2 separate regions of the Homo sapiens genome follow, and region 1 is linked to region 2. Evidence: promoter capture Hi-C in human tissues and cell types (Jung and others, 2019). All regions are on one chromosome and are shown on one strand. The core of a region is centred on a gene start or on the middle of the fragment in contact, and the rest is flanking DNA. Distances in the headings are between cores, read along the strand shown.

Region 1 (5,727 bases), core at 2,088-4,587, 680 kb before region 2:
GTAAAACATTTAGGCTGGCTGCTTAATGGAAAGAGCTTGGCTTTGGAGTCAGTCGCCCTTTGCTACTTTCCAGCTGAGTAACATTGGGCAAGCTACTTGCACTCTCCAAATCCCAGTTTCCTCATCTGTAAAATGAAGATAATGGGCCAGGCATGGTGGCTCACGCCTGTAAACCCAGCACTTTGGGAGGCTGAGGTGGGCGGATCACTTGAGGTCAGGAGTTCAAGACCAGCCTGGCCAACATGGTGAAACTCCATCTCTACTAAAAATTCAAAAATTAGCTAGGAGTGGTGGCGTGCTCCTGTAATCCCAGCTACTCAGGAGGCTGAGGCAGGAGAATCACTTGAACCCAGGAGGTGGAGGTTGTGGTGAGCCGAGATCATGCCATTGCACTCCAGCCTGGTCAACAGAGCAAGACTCCGTTTCAAAAGAAAAAAAAAAAGAAGATAATGATACTTCGCTCAGTTGTGGTGAAGAATTCACGGGAAAATGCATAAAAGCCCCAGGCTCATTGCCTGGCATATGCTATTAGCGGATGTCTGTAACCATCCTAGGGGGCCCTCTGTAGACAGACTGAACTGGGAGAGGATCACAAAGTGGGGGATTCAGAAAGTCAGCAACCAAGAATATTGGGAACAAGGACGTAAACGCACCTCCACTTTTATTCTTTCCTTTTTTCTACTTGGTTGAGGTGAAATTTACATGACACAAACTGTAATCCATTTTAAACTCCAATTCAGTGGCATTTAGTACATTCACAGTGTGTGCAACCACTACTTGTATCTTGTTACAAAACATTTTCATCATCCCCAAAGGAAACTGTCCACCCATTAAACAATCCCTCCCCATTTCCCTGACTCCTCAGCTCCTGGCAACCATCAATCTGCATGTGACTCTGTGGATTTACCTGATGTAAATGTTTCATGTAAATGAAATTGGTTTGGGGGGGTTCTTCCATTTTGTAGCATTTATCAGAATTTCATTCATTTTTATGGCTGAGTAATATTCTATTGTAGGTACTTACCACTTTTGCTTATCTATTCATCCCTTGATGGATATTTGGATTTTTTCCACCTTTTGGCGATTGTGAATAACGTTGCTATGAACATTTGTGTACAGGTATTTGCTTAAGTATGTGCTTTTGATTCTTTTGGGTATATACCCAGGCATGGAATTGTTGGGTCCTATGGTAATTTTATATTTAACTTTTTGAGAAACCACCTAATTGATTTTAAAAGCAGCTGTACCATTGTACATTCTCACCAGCAATGCGAAGGATTCCAATTTCTCCGTGCTCACCAACACTTACTTTTTGTTTATTTTTGATTATAGCCATCCTTGCGGGTATGAAGTGGTATCTCATTGCATGTTTTTTCCCCTTTTTTCACTGTGGTTTTGATTTGCATTTCGCCCCACCCCACCTTTATTTTTTAAATTCAGAAGAGTTGTTTGGTCTTCATGGCTTCTTTGAATCCTTAGACTATCCCTGATGGTTTATGTACAAAAGAGGTTTCTGTGGAAAAAAAAGACCCTCTTGTACAACTCCGGTAGGATTTTAAATTAGTACAAAGTCTGTGGAAAGTCATTTGGAACACTCCCCATTGAAATTACAAACACACACACCCTTTGATCCAGCAGTTCCAAGTCTATGAATCTGGCTTATGGATATACTCCCATGTGAACAAAATGATGTATCTATAAGGTTATTCACTGCAACATTGTTTATAATAGCAACAGATGGGAAACAAAATAAATGCCCCTCAACCGGGAACTGGTTAAACAAATTTTGGCACAGCCATACAATGGGATCCAGTACAGCTGTAAAAATGATGGAGACACCTCTTTGTGTGCTGGTATGGAGGGAATCCCAAGACATATTGTTAAGCAGAAAAAGAAATCAAGATGTAGAACAGTGTATAAATAGTCTGCCCTTCATATGAAAATGAGAGAAAAAGAATATGTGTGTGTATGTATGTATGCATATATAAATGCTTGTATTTCCCTGAATATTCATGAAATACCTTTGTAGAAAGGAAATTGGTGGTGAGAGACAAGAGTGGGAAGAAAACTTTTTACTGTATATCCTCTTGTGCCTTTGGAATTTCAAACTCTGTAAATATATTTCCTGTTCGAAAAATTAAATTGAAATGAAGACAACTCATAAACACCTAGAAATCTCATTAATTTGGGCTCTGATAGATCTGATCTTATGGTGATTTCAGTAGGACATGGACTCTAAGGTAAGCTTTGCTACACAAAGTGATGCCAGGGACAGGGTTGCAAAAGAAATAATTCAAGATCTCATCCCTCCCCCTTCCACTGCAGTCCCGGCTGCAGCCTTAGCTCACTGACTTGTTCACAATTTGAACTTAAGTCAGGCTTCCCGAGGCCATCCTGAATGACTTCCCGCAGTTCCCCCTTGCCCTTGTTCTGAGAGTCCTGCCCTTGGGCTTGCCCCAACACATGGTGCTCAAACAGAAACCAATGGGACTGGAGTATGCAGAGGAGCAGGTACAGCCCTAGACACTGGAAAGAAATTATGTCCAAAGTAAGTCTTTGAACTTGAGGTTGGGCACTTTGTGGCACCATGTTATCCAAGAGCTCTGAGTAGATCAGACGGCAGAGGAAGAGAAGTCTTAGCTCTGTCACTTTCTTGGTCAGTGTCTTTGGGCAAATCACCACATGCCTCTGAATCTCTGTTTTCTCATCTCTAAATGGGGCCAATACATGCAGGATTGTTGCATGTAGATGATGAGATGTTAAGAGGGCTTTTCTTTCCTTTTTTTTTTTTAACCCCCAGAGATGGGGTCTTGCTCTGTTGCCCAGGCTGGAGTGCAGTGAGTGGTATGATCATAGATCACTACAGACTCTAACCCTTGGGGCTCAACCAATTTTCCTGCCTTAGCCTCCCGAGTAGCTGGGACTATAGGTATGTGCCACCATGCCTGGCTAATTTTTAAATTTTTTTGTAGAGATAAAGTCTCACTATGTTGCCCAGGCTGAAGAGGGCTTTCTTAATATAAGCCTTATAAAATGCTGTAAGAACATGAAGGTTAACTTGAAAGTCACTATGAAAAGTCCACATTGGTTAAACATCTCCAATGTGCTTACTATGTTTGTGAGCTGGAGAGATGACAAAGAAGAATAACAGATTCTCCACCCTTCAAGAGTTTTGAGGGCTCATAGGCTAGTGAGAGAGGTGGTTGTGAAGACAATTAATTGCAGCAGAGTGCTAAGTATAGAATATAATGGAACACCAGGTGTAGGGGTGTGGGGAGGAGGAAGGCACAACTGTGCCTGGGGACTCAGCAAAGGCTTCTGAGACCAGAAGATGTTAGGGTTGAATCGTGAAAGGGAAGTAGGAGGTTGCCAGGCATGTAGGGCGCATTCCGGGTGGAGGAAACAGTCTGTGAAAAGGCAAGACGGGAAAAAGGAGAGAATGTTTATGGGCAACTCCAAGCAACTGGTTGCTGCAGAGTTTGGGGTATGTGGGTGGGAGCTGAGGTTGAAAAGGGATGACCAGGTCACATCTTGGAGACCTCTTTTATGGAGGTCACAGCTAAATGATGCAGTAAGAAATAAAACAAAAATACGTAAATATGGCAAGCAATCCTTTTACAGATCCTTCTCTCAGACATAAGATACTAAAAGACACTGAGCTTCCATATTTTTGACTCCCGACTCCCTGTGAGATGCACTGGGCATGAGCTTTGAGCATGCCCTTGTGAGGAACTCCAGCCAGCAGTCCTGGACTTTGAGCCATCCAGGCCAGACTGCAGATGATTCCAGCTCCTAGTCATGGAGTCACTCCAGTCAAATATCAAAATACTTTGGATATTTCCTGCTGAGGTCCTGGATGAGCCATCCTCACTGCGCCCATTAAATGATTCCTAGAATCTGTGAGTACAGGAAGTTGTTATATCCCAGGATGAAGTCACTGATCTAGAACAGGGAAAAGCCTTCACGTTGAGGACAGCTGCCCTGGGGAAGAGGATCATCTGCCCAGGGCACGTCCCAAGGTCATACGATTCATGCTGCTGCCACTGGCCTTTCCAAAACCCAGACACCATCATGCCACTCCTCTGATTTAAAAGCTGCCGTGGGTCCTCTCTGGCTGCAGAATGTAGCCTAACTGCTCAGTCCGTTGCTCAGGTTATTCACAGCCCAGCCCTCACCTTCGCCTGAGCTTCCTCTCCTGTGACTCTCCTCAGCAGCTCCAGGTCCTTGCCTCTTTGCTGCTTGGGGAAAGCATACTCCTCATTCAGGGTCAGCCAATTCCCGCCTGTCCTCACAGGCAGAGGAACAGCCTCCTCTTCTAGGCTCGCTCAGCACTCGACACTTTCTTCTTAGAGCTCTTTTCAGACGTTCACTTTTTGTGTTTGTATTTTGGCAAGACTGTGATTTCCTGGAGGGTAGGGACCATGTCTGACTCATGTCTGTAGTCTCAGGGCCCAGCTCTGTGTCCAGTTCAGTAAATGTTTTAGATGATTGAATGGATGCCTGGGAGGAAGGGAGGTGTGCTCCCCAGCAAACAACTGAGTGAATGTTTTCCAGGGGTGAGTCAGGAGTGATCTGTAAGTGCTATCCTCTACTGCTTTGTCTTCTGCTGTTTTTCTTTCATTCTTTCCCTCCTGCATTGCTTCTCTTATACTCATTTTTAAAATACATCTTTCTAAAATTTTTAAAAAAATTTTTTAATAATTAAAAAAATAAAGATGGGATCTTGCTAATTTGCCCAGGCTGATCTTAAAATACTGGGCTTAAGGAATCCTCCTGCCTCGGCTTCCCAAAGTTCTGGGATTACAGGCATGAGCTACTGCACCCAGCCGATTTTTTTGTGCACAAATTTTTAGAAATACCTGCCATGCAGGGGTTTGTATATTTGGGGCATAGATACCCAGGTAATACCCCCATCCCAGAACAGTTACTTCAGTTGTTCTGTGGATGATAAATCAGAGACCTACAATGTAGATTTCTCTTTTATATGTCTTTATTGCCTATATTAGGATTCATTAGTTACAATGAAAAGGAGAGGTAGAAACAACATAATTCAGTGTTCTGACACAAGGCTGTTTCCTCTGGTCCACAGGCTAATTTTTTTTTTTCTACTTAGAATTAGAAACTGATGATACTTCCACTTTTTCCCTTAGGAAAATGTTTAAGGATTTAGTGATCTTACTTTGAGGGTAATTCTCCAATGATGCTGCCTAAATGTTTCTCCTTTAATTTCATCCCAAGGCCAAGCTTTAATGCTTGAAATGATTAGTTCACACTGCAACTAATTTAGAATTTGAGTTAACACAAACACAGTTTGCATGTATATTCTCATAAGAAAGGTTTGAAATAACCCTTTATCTGCAAGGTTTCAGTATTACCAACATGCAGCATTTCATCCAAATTTGTCACCATTTTACAAACAAAGGGCTCAAGAAATCAAGGCCTTTTGAATCATCAGGGCCTACTAAATTTTTTAAAAGACTAAATGCTTATGATGCATGAATAGGTAATGGAGGCATTTACAAATTTCAATTTTTAGTCCATTAATCTCATTTACTTATTAAGAATCATTTATAGAAAATTCAACTCAACCAAGTACCTGTATAAGGTAATGTAGGCAATGATTTTGTAAACTAGTAAAAATTATGTCAGGTATTATTGACATCTGCACGTATTTGTAAATCCAAGACTGCATTTTAAAAGATGTAGACAATCTAGATGTATTTGCCT
Region 2 (5,528 bases), core at 1,527-4,026:
GAGGACCTTAAGAACAGCCAGGAAACAAAAACTAATCTCAACCCTTTGCACAAACTATTTTTTATCTCCTGGGAAACAGGCAGATTAAGTGTGAAGGTGCAACAAATACCAAATACCAAAGAGACCACTTCTTTCCAAGTGTGCTCAGAGTTCAGTGTGTAGAACAGCTGCAGAAACTCCTGGGCCCACAGCACTGCATGGTTTCAACTTTCATTGCAGGGAAGGACACGTTTCTATGCCTTACAGAGACTTGAAGCCTGAAAGCCTGGCCAAGTTTGGGAAGAAGAGGAGCCCTCTCAGAGCTCAAGAGCCTTCCTACTCTTTGGAACTTTTCCACAGTAGGCCAAGCTTGACAAGAGTTCAGCTCAAGTTGAACATACATACACACACTCTCACACACAAATTATGTGAGCCGTCAGAATCCAAGTGAATCCAGCTCAAGCTATCTACAAGGTTTTTACATGCAAGGTCAAGTATCTCAATCCAGAGGACTTTTGTTTTCTTAATGAAAAGCTTAGAAAACACATGAATCTTAGATTTTTAATGTTTTTTAAATGGAGTTTATTCTTAGCACATGGCTTTCTATGTAGCCACATCACAATTTGTACAGTTCCACATAAGTCTAAATGCACTCCCCTCTCCCCAAAGACCGTGCCCCAGAAGGGGACAACAGTATCTCTGTAACAGTGTCTTAAATAAATGCAAGTAAGAAAAACTAACATGTCACACCTACCATCAAGGTCTACACATCTTAAGAATTAAATAATCTTGTGAGGTCCACAATGTCTACTCATTTATTCAGTTAAATACAAGCTTGGATGAGCTGCCTTAATGGGGGAAGAGGAGGTAAGGAAGGTGGGGAAAGGGTCTGTCTTCTTCTGCTTTCAACAAAGATGCAAGTGTATGTCCCCACTCAGCATGGGCTGTCCAGCTAGCTGACTGTAGCCATCTCAAAAGTATTTGATACCAAGTAGTCCTTCTCAGGTATCCACACCTGGCAGCCTTGTTTCGGGCCAGCAGGTTGTTCCACCAGCCAGCATCCTGGACAACTGTTCTCTCTTGGGTGGCAACCAGCACAGACTCTTAACCGGATAATGTCTTCTTTTTGATTATTCTTTTCACCAATTTGGGTTTGTTTTGGTGTCTATTATGGTCCAGATGGGGAGGGGTGGATGAGGAACGGAGCAGGAGAAGAGAAGAGAAAAGCAGGTAAGGGATAGAAACTGGTTAAGATCTCTAGAAGATTATATGGAGGAGGGAACGGGTGTGGAGGTGCTCGGGTGGGGGTGGGGATGGAGGTGTGGGCTCTGAGTTTGTGCTTTCCCTGGTGGGCCGGCAGAGGCCGAGGCCGAATTGGAGGATCGCATCTTGGTGTTGGGCAGTTTGTGGTCTTTCTTCCACTTCATCCTCCGGTTCTGAAACCAGATCTTGACCTGGCGCTCAGACAAACAGAGCGTGTGGGCGATCTCGATGCGGCGCCGCCGGGTCAGGTATCGATTGAAGTGGAACTCCTTCTCCAGCTCCAAGACCTGCTGCCGGGTGTAGGCGGTTCGAGAGCGCTTAGGCTCCCCTCCGTTATAACTGGGGTTAACTGAAAACCCAGAACCCCGAAATAGAAGGCCAAGGAGGAGGGAGCGGAAGAGAGGGAAAGGAGGAGGAGAGAGAAGGTGGGGTGGGGAAGAGCAATTGGACATCATCATTATATAATAACCTGACACCAAGTTCACGCAAGATACATAAAACGGCAAAGAAAATGTTTCACAGGCTATTGACAACGGGAAACACCCGAGAGCCATAAAGAATGGTGCTGGGCATTGGGGCTGAAGAAAAGCTTCAAAGACACATGGCCTGAAGCCTCTGCCAGGGCAATTAAATTTATGGGGGCTATAATTACTGCCCTAACAGTTTGGCGTCTCGTAAATCTCCTGATAAAGGGACCCTGGGTACAAAAGGGTTCTCATGTTGGGATCAGGCGGCTGGCTGGCGCGCACATACCCACATCTCACCGCAGCCCGGGTCAGATGGGGGCTCCCCTCCCGAGGCCCCCTTCCCCTGAGCCTCTCCCTCCTGACCCCGACCCTCGAACCCAGGCCCAGCCCCGGCCCACCTCCCGCGCCTCCCAAGCGGCGCCACGTACCGGCGCTGACATGGATCTTCTTCATCCAGGGGTACACCACGGGCTCCTTGCCCTTCAGGCCCAGCGGGCTCTTGTCGGCCAAGAGCAGCGGGCACGCGGGGGCGCTGCCCCCTGCCGGGACGCCTGGGGTGGCGGGGGCCGCCTCGCAGCGCCGCGGGGCCGCTGGGGGCACGGCGCGAGGCTGCAGGGGCGGCGGCAGCTGGGGCTGCAGGACGTGGCTCGCATGCAGGCCGTGCGCTGGGCCCTTGGCTTGCGCCGGGGGCTGCTCGGGCTGGGGCGGCCGCCCGGGGCTGGCGCCGCCGCGGTAGCCATAGGGGTAGGCGGTGTCCGCGGCCCCATGCGCGGGGTACAGCGCGGCAGCAGGGTAGGCGGGCTCGCGGGCGGTCCGCGGCGCGTAGTAGGAGGCAGTGGGCTCTCGGCCGCCGCCCGCGTGAGGGAGCTGGGGCTGCTGCAGCGGCAGGTGCTGGGTCGGGGGCGCTGGGGGCTGCTGGTAGCCGGGGCCCCCGCCCGGGCCGCCGTCTGCGCCGCCCGAGCCGCTGTGCTGCGCGTACTCCTCGAAGGGAGGGAACTTGGGCTCGATGTAGTTGGAGTTTATCAAAAACGAGCTCATGGTCATTAATTTGTGAAGTGCAAAAATACTAATTTTTCTCGCGTTGTCGTTTTTTCTGGGCTTGCCGAGGCCCCTCCCCCTCCTGCCTCGCTTCCCATCCCCCTTTCCTCTGCGCCCTTCCCCTCCCCCCGCTGTCAAGTGCCCACTCCTCCCCCTCCCGCAGACGCCGCCACCAAAGTTCGAGCCGCTCCTCCCCAGCCCAGCGCGCGCCCCGCCCCGTGCCCCACGTGCAGCGCCCCCACCAATGGGCGCACCGCGCGCGCGGACCCGGATCAGGAAACGCGCGGGTGCGTGATGGATGCTGCTGTCCGGCCCCTGGGCTGGGGGAGGGAGCAGGAGCTTTGGACCCCAGCCCCCCAGCTTTGGTTCCCGCTGGGAATTCAGGCCCTGTCAGGCTGTAGGTCCTCTCGGGAGCCCTCTGCCTGCCCTACTGCTGGCCTAGGCCTCGGGCTGTCTGGCGGCCGCGACTCAGCGCTGACCTCGGGCGCAACCCAGTCAGGCTTCGTGTCCTTCAGGGGTTCTAGGCTAACAGGCGAAAGGAAGGGCGTTGGGACCGAGGGGCATCCTGGTTTTTATGTACGCCACTGAGAGGCCACCAGACACATTTTCTCAACCGCAGATCCCCCTTCCCCACACCCTGCTCCTTGCGTGTCAGCCTGAGAGCCCTTGCTTTGAGAAGCTTGGCAGAAGCTGCAAAGGGTGGGCGGGCAGCTAAGAGAAATCGACCCAAGGATGTAAATCGAGGCCATTCCATTATAACTGGATGGACACTTTTCATTTTTTCCTTCTTTCAGAGACAATCTGTTTCGTGTTTTCCTAAGAAAAATTGGAACCTTCGTAATAGCATCTAATTTGACGGGGGTTGTCGATGTGAGAGCTAAATATGCCCGCATTTACTAGGTGCGATTGTGAGAGAGAAGGTGGCCCAAGGATGGGAATGGATAGAAGCAACACCTCCACAGAACCGAGCTTTGAAAACAATAACTTCCTATTTCAGAACTATCCCCAAACAAAAACAAGCTAAGGGTAGAATAAACACCTTGCCGGGTCTGATCGCTGATGGGTCTTTTCCAGCTAAGAATTTCATGTTTTCTCTTTTAGATCCTGCTTTCTCAGGCAGTATCTGAGGCTAGAGTTATATTTGCAGGACAGTCTATAATTTCTGAATTGCTGAAAATTAGCGTATTAACGATATCAGAAGCTCCGGAAAGGAGGGAGAGGAGACTGTTGCCTGCTATTTGGTAATTGAAATTTGATGGGTACACTAATTACGCCATTATTAACAAATAAATTACTTATTAATTCCACCTAATGTTGATCTTTGAAGTAAATACTGATGCCTTATTTGTGCTGTGTGCTTTCTCCCTTTCTTTTCTGAGTAGTAGACATATCTAGATCCTCTACTTTTCAGCCTAAATTAAAGCAGTGTAAACTAGCATAGTCACCATTCTAAAAATATTTTCATATTGGCATGCAAAAGCAAGGATTTTTCAGCTGGTGCACCTTAGTTGATTTTTCAAAGAGCAGTATAAACAGCCTTCTCACAACTGAGTCTGGAACGCAGACAAGGAAAATTATTTCCTAAGCCTGGAGACACTTGAAAAGGAATGTCAATTCTATCTTCATTCATACTGGTTACTCATATGAGTTACTAAATGCTGGAATATATCCATTTGATGGATAGTCACTTAATGCTTAGCCACATAAAGCCTATTATATGGGACTAATCTTTAAACTAATTTAGGAAAAGAGGTTAAAAAGGGGATCATATTAGCTTTCTAACTGGAATCACCCTGAAGAGGTACAAAGAGATTTTCCACGTTAGGTGTATATGAGTGTGAAGAGTGCTGTCCATTCACATGAGGCACCCTGAAAATTTGTTTTTAAAGAAATTTGAGCCACAGACAGAAATCAACACTGAGTGTAATCTTTAGCCATCCTCTCTAGACTGGAGGAAAAATTTAGAATGTGATACATCTACCTGAACCAATATCTCTCCCTAGCAAGAAAAAATAATATACACATAGGTTATATAAAATGTAATATAAATAATATATAGACATACGTATTACAAATCTGAACCCTATAAGTTTCAGGGGGACAAAAAGCATGACAAGGAAATCTTCCCTCCTTCTCATGTCATCAGCCTTGAGTACTAGGGTCTTAACCATATCTGTTTAATATTTACAGACACTAAAACACAAAATTCTGTTGTTTAGCCTCAGAACCTTGTACCAAGTTTCTATTTTTAAGTATTAACGAGACATAAACACTGTTTTGTATACGGTTAACCCAAACGAGTTAGCTGTGCCTGTGTTTTGTGTGATTCTATTACTTTAGGAAGATGGCCTTACACAGAATCCCCCAAGGCCTGTAACTTGTCTTTGTGGTTCGTATCATAAACACAAACGGAGCCAGGACCACCAAGTGTTATCTCAACACCGACATTTTGACATTTTACTGCAAGATTTATGGCTGTAATAAACAATCTCAGTACCTTTTCTGAACCTTCCTCAATCTCCCTTTGCAAACCATAGCATCATTCCATTGAATCAAATAATCTTTTGAAAAACATTTAAAAAAAATACCTCTTGCCTTTACACAATATCCAAGACACCAAAGTAAAGCCAGGAAGAAACTAACTCAATTAATAAACAAACTGAAGTTTACCAGCAGCATCTCGCCTGAGAAAAGATGGGATGCCCTGAAATGTAGCAGAGAGGGAGCATGCTAATCCTCACACACCAACTGGCTCCAGTCCCAAGCGGGGTGAAAGCGTTA

Evidence for each region. Contacts are between HindIII fragments. The study calls those that stand out against the background at their distance.
Region 1: a contact is called between a fragment that was not itself captured here and the fragment with the promoter of HOXA4 in region 2, in 1 of the 25 tissues and cell types used here (mesendoderm cells).

What each region holds. Positions count from the first base shown.
Region 1 is chr7:26,445,508-26,451,234 of GRCh38, forward strand. All of the region lies in intron 1 of LINC02981 (long intergenic non-protein coding RNA 2981), which reads left to right. Among named protein-coding and RNA genes, the nearest start is that of SNX10-AS1, 49 kb to the left of the region's middle. The HindIII fragment of the contact is 4,909 bases long and covers 884-5,727 here.
Region 2 is chr7:27,127,981-27,133,508 of GRCh38, forward strand. HOXA4 (homeobox A4) reads right to left here and starts at 2,777. Exons shown (of 2, transcript NM_002141.5): 1 at 2,138-2,777; 2 at 545-1,591. The coding sequence starts at 2,753. The coding sequence ends at 1,245. The region is part of intron 2 of HOXA3 (homeobox A3); the gene reads right to left. HOXA-AS2 (HOXA cluster antisense RNA 2) reads left to right here. Exons shown (of 4, transcript NR_122069.1): 4 at 220-780. RefSeq lists a silencer at 2,935-3,004. The HindIII fragment of the contact is 3,192 bases long and covers 1,323-4,514 here.